2 separate regions of the Homo sapiens genome follow, and region 1 is linked to region 2. The links are contacts of gene promoters, found by promoter capture Hi-C in blood cells and fetal thymus (Javierre and others, 2016). All regions are on one chromosome and are shown on one strand. Each heading gives the region's core, a stretch centred on a gene start or on the middle of the fragment in contact. The rest is flanking DNA. Distances are from core to core; before and after follow the strand shown. Region 1 has its middle 44 kb from the start of LINC00494. Region 2 holds the start of SULF2 (sulfatase 2).

Evidence for each region. The method cuts DNA at HindIII sites, captures the fragments that hold promoters and counts their contacts. A CHiCAGO score of 5 or more calls a contact.
Region 1: a fragment that was not itself captured here is called in contact with the fragment with the promoter of SULF2 in region 2 in 1 of 17 cell types (endothelial precursors); the score reaches 6.8 in endothelial precursors.

What each region holds. Positions count from the first base shown.
Region 1 is chr20:48,313,571-48,318,894 of GRCh38, forward strand. No RefSeq gene overlaps it. Among named protein-coding and RNA genes, the nearest start is that of LINC00494, 44 kb to the right of the region's middle. The HindIII fragment of the contact is 2,557 bases long and covers 2,159-4,715 here.
Region 2 is chr20:47,781,848-47,786,730 of GRCh38, forward strand. SULF2 (sulfatase 2) reads right to left here and starts at 3,634. Exons shown (of 21, transcript NM_001387048.1): 1 at 3,496-3,634. LOC124904920 (a long non-coding RNA gene) reads left to right here and starts at 3,907. Exons shown (of 2, transcript XR_007067618.1): 1 at 3,907-4,315; 2 at 4,558-4,883. RefSeq lists enhancers at 593-652, 4,752-4,883. The HindIII fragment of the contact is 4,753 bases long and covers 2,539-4,883 here.

The DNA of each region.
Region 1 (5,324 bases), core at 2,187-4,686, 530 kb after region 2:
TGAGTGGAGATGACGTAGAGCAGAGGCCCAGCCTCCCTGAGACACACAAGCAGCATGAGCAAAAAACAACTTTAGCTGTTCAGGCTCCTGGGATTTCGGTGTTGTTTGTTATCGCAGCAGCATCTCATCTACCCCAGTGGATGCAAATTCTTCCTCTGTTTCTCCAACACAAACAACGCTGCAATGAACAGCCTTCTCAACTTTTCCTTGACCTGTGTGAGTGTTGCTTCAAGTTAGATTTTTAAACAAAAAAGTGTATCGTACAAAACTGTATTTTCTTCTCAAAGAGTAAAAATAAGCTTTCTGCTAAATGAAATTTCATTGGAAACTTTGAAAATGCCTGAACTTAAATATTTAATCCATCACTACCCATTTAATATGAAGCTCCAGGTAATTGGCATCCATTCTCCACATCTGGCTTTTTGTTGAATTAGGCACAGTTGTAATTTGTGGTTAGCCCAGGGATGGTGAAATTTTGAGTCTCTTGGCTGGAAAGGACTCACAGAGAACCTCTTGCTGAGAAGAGACAAATTCAGCATCCTTTCCCCAGTCCCCTCCCCTGTGTTTATTTGTCCTGACCATAAATGTGCACCCTCTGCTGTGTGTAGATCTGCAGCTGCAGGAAATGGCAGACAATCACCTTGCAGGGTTTTTTCCTGGTCTCAGAACCCCAATGTCATTTTGCATTTTGCTCCCCTGTATTTAGCCCAGGAAGGGGGTTAGGGAAAGTCACAAACTGCCCATGCAGTGAAGTCTTCAACCTTGCCAACCTTTGCTCAGGCCTGTCTGCACATTCCCTGCATTTATGGTTAAAACCCCTTTCCTTTTCCCCATTATAATTTCTCCCTAGGACCCTAAGATGGAACAGGCCTGTGGACTAGGCAGGATTCTTCACAGCTGGTTTGATTGCTCAAGGCTGAGCCGGTCTCTGTTTGGCTGCAAAGATTAACTGAGCTCCATCAGCAGATCAATTAATCACTAACAAATTCAGGCTGATGAGTTTTTCATTCCCTTTCAGGCCACAGGACATGTTATAGACAGACTGCCAAGTCATTTTAAACCTGTGAACATTCAAATTGCTTCAGAGCTGAGCCTATTCTAGAACGTAGCAATTTTGAGCCTTTGTGCAGCTCTGATTCTTCATAAGCCGATAATGGGTATGTGGGGAGCATAAAGCGAGATTGGATGGCTTCCATTTAGGATGGCAGAAATGGAAATCTGAACAGAAGTAGAGGAATCATCATTAACCTTCACAATGGCGTCCACACCTCTAGAGGTGGGAAGCAAGAACGTTTAAGCAACTGTGCTGTTTACTGGGCACTCAACTTGGCCAGTAAGACACTGGTCAGGCCAGGGATATCTGGGTTCCACTAAAATAAAGATCGTTTCCAAATGGGTGATGACTGGCATGGCTAGGGGGTGGGGAGGCATGGGCAGTCCAGAGAAGAAGGAAAATAGTTCATTTACAAGTCCCTTTTTGGGAGGGATGAGAGAATGATGAAAGCTAAGGTTTGTCTAGCATTGGCCAGAAATTAACTCCCAGAAATTGACATGATCAGCAATAATGATTATTCCATGTGAACATGGCTTCTTTGGTGTAAATTTCCTAATTTGAGTTTCTGGCATCCATTTTCCCATCTTGCGGTAACCAGACCCTAGTAACTAAGCAGTCACTCTCCCATTGCCCATCACTGGGTTCAGGAGGAGCTCCATGTTTGGATCTAAGGGTGGAGCATGTGACCAGGTCTGGCCAATCAGCTGGTAAATCCCCGTGACCAGGAAGTGGTTCAGGATGAGCACGTGACATGAGTTAATCCAAGCAGAATGAGCCTTGGTTCTAGAGCAGGAGTGACCAGGAGAGATGCTCCCTGGGACAGGCGGTGTTAGATGTCCACCCAACAGCTCCCCACCCCTTAGTTCCCCAGTCCACAGGCTGAGAGTGCCCGTTCCTTGCTTTCCCATCCTCCTTTGCAGAGAGGGCAGAGTCACATGACCCAGTCCAGCCAGTGGAATCTGAGAGAGCATCTGGTGGGGTGTGGGGTGTGGGGTGGGGAGGTGGAGGGTTCTGGGGGGGATTTGCCCCATCTGGTAAAAGAGATGTTCTTGACAAGAGGCTTCCCTTTCTACCTGTATTGGATGCTGTTGGGTGAATGCCACAAGCTTAGAGCTAGGGCAGCCATTTTTTCATAAGAAAGAAAAAGTACATATATACTCAGAGTGCTTACATTTGGAGTTACTGAATCACTCTCAGAGCTAACTATACTTTCAGGCTCCTTGTGTAAAAAGAAAAAAGAAACTTCATAAGTAAGCTACTTTTAGACAAGATTCTGTTACTTATATTGATGTGTAAACAGAGCTACTGGGAGCCGTGTTGCTATCCTATTGAGCCCTGGAATGATGCTATCATAAAGAAGAGCAGGACTGAAACTGTCTTGGTGGCTTTCTTTGAGCCCCTAGATCCACCTGTACCTGGAACCTTACCTCTGAGTTGTTCCATTACATGAGCCAATGCATTTTCTTTTTGCTAATTCGATGGTGGGGGGTTATGTACCTTTTTTTTTTTTTTTTTTTTTTAAGACGGAGTCTCACTCTGTCACGCAGGCTAGAGTGCAGTGGCATGATCTTGGCTCACTGCAACCTCTGCCTCCTAGGTTCAAGCGATTCTCCTGTCTCAGCCTCCCGAGTAGCTGGGATTACAGGTGTGCACCACCATGCCCGGCTAATTTTTGTATTTTTAGTAGAGACGGGGTTTCCCCATGTTGGCCAGGCTGGTCTCGATCTCCTGACCTCAGGTGATTTGCCCACTTTGGCCTCCCAAAGTGTATGTGCTTTTTATAATTAAAAACATCAAAACTTATAACTTCGGCATAACAAAGGATGGCATAAACGAAGACAAGGAAGAGCTTTCCGGCTCATACATTACAAAGGATTAATTTAATATGCTGTAAAGCAACAAGAAAAATACAGATAATTTGACAGAAAAATGGATAAAGGATATGAATGGATTGTTTACAGAAGTGAAATGCAAATAACCAATAAACACAACAAAGATGAGAATTTGACCTTTAATTAAACAAATGAAAATGACTATTAAATTCACCTATCAGATTGGCAAGACAAACCCTTCAAGGCTGTGGGTAAACAGATACTCCTATTGTTCTAACTAAATAGGTACGGGCAGCTTGGCAGGTAACTTGTCAATAGCTATCAAATTAAAATAAGAATGCTCAGACCTTTTGTGTAAATCAGGTTCCATGCAGGAAAATGGGAACCACTCCAATCTGAAAAACAGAGAGCAAGAGTCAGTTCCACAGGTGATGGAAAGGCTAGGGGCCAAATGGCAGAAACTGAGTCAAGACAGAGAAGAAGGAAGCCTCTAGCAGCTCTAGGCATAATGAGAAAATGAAGAAGTGTAACTCCTGGCACCCACATCTGGGGTGACCCAGGAGAAGACAGAGAAGCACACAGGGGCTCTTCAGAAGCTGAAGCCACGGAGGAAGCATGGTTACTGTTTGAGGCAAAGTAAGAGAAGAGAAAAGAAGTGTTCAGATCTTCACTTCCAGAAAGAGAGTGGATACATTTTTCCTCCTCTTCTTGCTAAGTACAGCTAAAACCCCTGCAAGTATGTATAAAACAAACCTAAGCCTCTGAACAGTGGAGAGAAGAAGGCAGACCAGCAGGGCCCTCGGGATAGGAGAAATGACAGGACAGTGAGTTCCTGGGGTTTTCTTTTGCCTTCTTTATTGTGGACTGGGTGCTGGAGAAGCTGACAACCTGGAAATGCCAACAAGCACAGACAAAAGGGAAATATCAGGAAGAGCCTGTCTTCTCTACCTGAAGGGCAAGAAATAGGGCAGCCTAGCAAGACACAAAACTTTTGGACAACCACCCCATGCCGGACAAACGACATGGAAAAACCTCAGCCCACCCTCATCCATGCCAGTGAAGAGCAAGTGAGGAACCTGAACTTCCACCTCCACCTAGCTGTAGCAAGGCACCCAAACCCCGACTGGGGTGGTGTTGGAGAAGGCTGGGCAGGAGCCTAGACTTCCACTCTCACCTGATGTAAGGAGCCTCCCACCCACATGGTGCCCAGTGGAGGCTGGTGAGGAGCCCTAATGAGATATCATTGCACCTCCAAACCAGGGTGCTCAGAGACTCGTTGGGACACTGAGTCCTCACCCCCACCCAGCAGTAATGCGATGTGCCTCCCACCCCAGGGTATAAGTGGAGGCCAAGTGGGGAACTGGGGCTCCACCCAACCTGGCAATAACGAGGCGCTGTTGCTGAACCCCCACCCCCAGTGTGGTATGAAAGGACGTCTGCTAACACCTGGAGATTTGGGTAAGATCTCGAGTCTCCTAGCATGCTGCCCAACATGGCAAGGAGTCCATCAAAAATCACTCCTACCAAGAACCAGTAGCAGCTTAAGTTAATGGGAAAAGACAAGCAACAGATGCCAACATCAAGATAACACAGATGTCGGAATGATTTCATAGTTATTTTAGAATGGTCATTGTAAAAATACTTTCATGTGCTGAAAATGAGTCAAAATATAGAAAGTTTTAGCGAAGAAAAGAAAAGTTTCAGTAAGGAAATAGAAAATATAACAAAGAACCAAGTGGAAATTTTAGAACTGAGAACACACAATAACCAATTTTTTAAAAAAATACTAAATACCTGGGCTCAATAGAAGAATGGAAAAGATGGAGGGAAGCTTCTGCGAGCTGGAAAATCGACCAGTAGAAATGAGTTATCCTGAACAACAGAGAGAAAATAGAAAAAGGATTGAACAAACAGCGCTCTAAGCCTCCGCAGGAAAACTGCAGACCCCGGCCCCCGTCATCCCCAATGATTTCTGCTCTCCAGAAAGCACCACTTTTTATCTCTTCTAGCTGTTTATCATTCTCTTTCTTTCTTTCTTTCTTTTCTTTGCTTTTCTTTTCTTTTCTTTCAGATGGAGTCTTGCTCTGTCTCCAGGCTGGAGTACAGTGGCACGATCTCGGCTCACAGCAACCTCTGTCTCCCAGGTTCAAGTGATTCTCCTGCCTCAGCCTCCCAAGTAGCTGGGATTACAGGTGCCTGCCACCACACCCAGCTAATTTTTGTATTTTTAGTAGAGAGGGGGTTTCACCATGTTGGCCAGGATGGTCTCGATCTCCCGACCTCGTGATCTGCCCGCCTCAGCCTCCAAAAGTGCTGGGATTACAGGCATGAGCCACAGAGCCCGGCCCTATGTCTATATTTCTAAGTAATATGTTTCTGTTGCTACCAGTTTTTTTCTGTAAACATTATCTATCGCCTATCTGCTATGATCAATGAAT
Region 2 (4,883 bases), core at 2,384-4,883:
GCTGCCAGGGACTGCCCGCCCCAGAGCTGGAGAGACATCAGCCTCATGGAAGGCAGAGGAGCGGTGGATAGGAATGGATTCTCATTACAAAATCTGAGCTGTGGGTCCAGCTGTGTCTGAAGCTAGAGTTAGTCACCTTAAGACTTTTGGTTATGAAAACCAGTAAGTCCACTTCTTTTCTCCTTAAGCTGGCTTGAGTTTTTTTCTTCTCTTTTTCCGTTGCTTGCAAGAGAAAGGAACCTGATTACTTTACAGTTCTTCTAGGCAAGTACCCCTAACTGATACTCCATTTGCAACTTGCACACAGCAGCTGCTCAGTAAACACCAGCAGATACGGATGGACTGCTCTCCCTTCCGGTCCATTCACTGCTGGATCTGTACCCTGACACCCAACTGTGGCCAGCCCAGCGCTTCTTCCCCTTTAGGCTCCAAGTGAGGCCTCGTTCCCTAGCAACCACCCCAATTAGGCAACCATGCCATTTATCGGGATGCCAATTAATTATAACGATCTTAATGCCCTCCCAATTAGACAGTGCCTTCAATCCGGCTGGGCCAGGGCTGTCTGTAGATCTCCACCAAGGCCCATTCCAAGGAGGCCCAGAGAAAGCAGGTTTCAGGGAGGGCCCCCTCACCTGCAGATCAGCATTGAGAGAGGCCCCCATCTTCCACATCCGCCCAGGCCTGACACAGAGCACCCTGGCACCACCCCCAGGGCCAGGCCATCGAGACTCCATCACCAACCACAGGAAGGTCTCACCTCTAGGAGAGCTTTTGCTCTCTGGCCACTGTGCTCTGAGTGGGCTGAAATCTTCACCATGGTTCACCTGGCTTTTCCATCAGCTGCATTTGATGTTTCCCTTTGCATTTTGACTGGGGGAGGGGACAGTGTGTCTGCTCATAAGCAGAAGAAAAAGCACCAGGCAGACACATGTTTTCCTTGGGGCAAAAAACCTCAAATACAAACCCGGACTCTCTGTCGGAACAGTGGGGGTTTATGGAAAGTTAAGGGCCTTTTACTTTGCAAAGTTTGACTGTCTGAAGGTGTTTTCTTCCCCTGCATATGTGTTTCTTCTACATCTGGGACAAAGGCCAAGGTCATGGAGGAGAGTCCAGTGGTTCCAAGTGGACCCCGGAGCTTGAGGGCCTCTTGAATCCCAGCTCTACCTGTGACCAGCTGTAGGCAAGTCACAATCCTCTCTGTGCCTGTTTCCTCATCTTTAATATGGCAACAATGGCAGTACTTACTTAACAGGGTATTTGTGTGGATTTAATGAGTAAGGTATAAGGGCTTAGATCAATGCCTCAGATCAGGCCCATACAAAACTACTTAAGTGTTACCAATTATCTTAAGTCTGGACTAAACCTTTTCTTTTAACTACAAGCTGGTCAGAAATGCTGATATTTTTCTGTAGGACAGGGCTTCTGGACTCCTTCTGCAGGACTAAAGTCTAAGGTCAGATAATGGCCAAAGCTTGACAGAGTTGGGTGATATTCTGCCTGGTTAACCCAGCTGCCCTCTTGAGGCAGGTCCAAGCAGATAAACTAACCAGTGCCAGAAAAAGTGAGAAGGAAATGTTATCTCCCAAATCAGGTCCAAATCAGGTGTGAAACTGCATATCAACTGGGTTCTTTGGACAGCAGCTGAACTGGGGGACATGCACGTGCATGCACACACACTGCTATGCTGTCCTCCTCCAAGACCAGACTTTTACAGTCAACTCATCACTCTACTCTCAAGTTTGAAAATTTAACATGTTATTAGGGTTTCAGAAAAAGCCATAAATTCAAATAAAAAACCCAAGAAGTACACACAAAGCCCAAACCCCAAACCCACATTGACCCTCAGCTGCAGCAGTGATGCCAACATCACGGCCTTTATGTATATAAATTTAGCTGGGGAAGGAAGAGGCCTTCATGTACAAAGGTCCAACATGCCATCTGCCAAGCCCACCACCTTCGCCTTTCAAGCTGCTTATTAGAACGCTAAATTACACATCCGACAGGCTGTCTGGATGAGTTTTCTCTTCTCTATGATGTGGGAGAGACGAAGCTGGGGAGAACATCTCTTACAGGGAAGGGGCCCCCTTCGTTCTGTCCTCCCTACCCCGTTCCTATACTTAACGATTGGCTCTAATTTAATTAGAACCCTCTGGTGGTTCTGTAATGGGAGGCAGAGGCTGTCAAGAAATCACCTTCACTATTCACTACAAGCTGAAATTTGGAGAGCGCGCAGATCCGGGGGTGTCCTCCAGAGAAAGCCCGTCTCTCCTGCTCCCTGTCTCCCCCTGAGAACCTGCTCCAGCGCAGCCTCCCCTTCTCTGCCCCAAAAGTGGGGGTGGACCCGGTGGGAAACAGGCAGGGGACAGATGGAGGGGCGAGAGGGCGGGTGTCCCAACACGCACAGATGAGCAAATACCCAGATTGAAACGTAAGCTGAATGTAATTACTTGGTTAATTAAATATTGACTTTTAACTCAAAAAGTGATTAAAACAAGCTGCAGGAAGACTTTCCAGAAAGGGGGGCAGGGAATGAATCAAAGCTTTCAAGGGGGAGGAGGAGGAGGAGAGGGTCGTCACAGGCAGGTCTGGCTTGCTCTTCCTACTGTGTGCTGGGCCTACTGCGTGCAGGTGGGGGAGTTGCGGACCGAGGCCAGTGTGCAAACTAGGATTGCAGGCTTCCCTTTCCATCTTCCACCCCGAGACGGCATCTCTCTACCCTGCTGCCCTCCCAGTGAACCGGCAGCTTCTGGCGCGCAGGAGCCAGATCCTGTTCAGCCGCGTTTCCCTGGAACAGAACGCGGTGCCCGGCACGAGGGGGTGCTCCAGAAATGCTTGTAGAACGAATGAACGAACTACTATAAGGAATGTTTGGAAAAGTGCACTCCTAGAATTCACCGCTAGACTTCTGAAACCCCGAGGAGCCGGGGAGGGGAGCATCCCTCCGCCAGGCGATGGAAACTCGTTCTGCCCTGGCCTGGGAGGAAGTCTGCCTTTTCGATCCTGTTTGTCCTTTCGGTGTCTGCGAGTTTCCAACCACTCTGAAGATCCGGCCCACTGCTTCCCCGAGTCCTGCCCGGACAAGCCCCACGTGGGCTGGCATCTACCGGTCCCTTGGGTCTAAACCCTAAGGGTCAACAAGGCCATGCCCCTGCGGATGGCCGGCCCAGGCGCGCTCCCCTACCCGGGGCCGCCTGTGCTCGGTGTGCCGTGTCCGCGGGTCAGGGGCGCGGCGGGAAGTCCTCGCCCGCCCGCCAGCCAGCGGGGTCAAACAGGTCATCCCTCTGCGGACGGCCGGCGCCGGAGCCTCCCTCCCGCCCGCCCGGACCCACCTCCGCAAGCAGCGCTGGGGCTGGAGCCGGGCGGTCCGGACCAGCCCCGGCTCACCTGGGCGGCGCTCGCGGCCGGGCTCACGCCGGGGAAGGCTCCGGCCGCCGCGAGCCCCCGCCCGAGCCCCGCGTCCCCCAGCCACCCACCTGCCCCCCACGCCCCACTCACCAGCGCGCACGGCCCCGGCAACCTCACCCGGAGCGGGGCGCCGCCGCCGCCTCTGCCGCAGCCCGGCCGGGCCGCTGGGCGCAGGGGACTCCGCGCCGCCGCTGCCGCTGCCGCCGCCGCCGCCGCCGCTGCCGCTGCTGCATCCCCCGGCGAGCGCTGCTGCTCCTCCTCCTGCCTCCTCCCCGCCCCCCAACGCCGCCGCCACCGCCCCCGGCCCCCTCCCCGCGCGCCGCCCCAGCCAAAGTCCGGCTCCGCACCCCGCCCGGACCGCTCTTAAATCGCCCCAGCCCGGCCGGCCACGCTGCCCCAGCCAGCCCCTTGGCACGGCGCTACCGCCCCCCGCTCGCCTGCCCGCCGGCCTCCACGCAGGGGAGGCGGGCGCGCTCCGGGGCGGGGAGCGTCGGGCCGGGAGCCGCGGACGGCTGGGGCCCGGGGCGCGGGGGGCCCAGCCGCGGTGCCCTCCTCGAGCCCTCCGCGCGCTAGCGCTTTTACCTCCGGCCTGGGGGACGCGCGGCCCGCGACCCGGCCCTGCCTGTCCCCGGCGCACGGCCCCGGCCCCGGCCCCGAAGTCCAGCTCCGGACGGGGCAGTGAACGCAGAGCTGGGGTCCCGGCGGCTCTCGACCTCCCGATGCCTCCGGACTCGGCTGGCCGCGCTCCCGGCGCCGAGCGCGCACCCTCGCCGGGACACACAGACGCACACTCACTCGACACACTCTCGCTCCTGCTCGCCCTCGGCGGAGAGTTGAAACAGATGTGGGATTCGCCCAGGAGCTGGAAACGAGGGAGGGAAGCGAGCCAGAGCCTTGTGTGCACGTGTGTGTGCGTAACACACAAACCAGGGGGCATCGCTAATAAATCAAATATCGTGATAAATTCAGGAGGGCCATCGATCAGGTCCACTTGGCTGGAAACGACGTGAATCTGCCTCTTTTCCGCTTTCTTCTTCTCCTCTCTCGGAGCTGGAGGGAGCCAAATGTTCCGCGGGGAGTGCGACAGCCCCGGCCGGGCGCTCCCCTCGTAATGACACGTTAATAAATGTTTTCTTTTATCTGCTTTCACAGGACTCGCCCCGGTCTGCAAACACTCGACTGCCTTTGCCGAAAGCCTCGCGCTCGCCTCCAGCCACACACATTTGCCATTGGAGAGGCCGGCGCCGGCCGCGACCCGCAGCTCAATCGCAGGGCAAACCGAGCTGCCTGTGCGCGCCCGAGAACTCCCCGAGAAATTAACTTCGGCTCAAGTGAAAATAGCAGCTGTTGTCCAGAAATGGCCCGGGAGTAGCATAGAAAGGAGAAACCGGCTTCCTCCGAAAGGGGAGGAATTGGACTCAAGGGGGTGCTGTCTACCGTGGTTTCCGCTGTCCCTCGCGCCACAGAAGAGGCCGGAG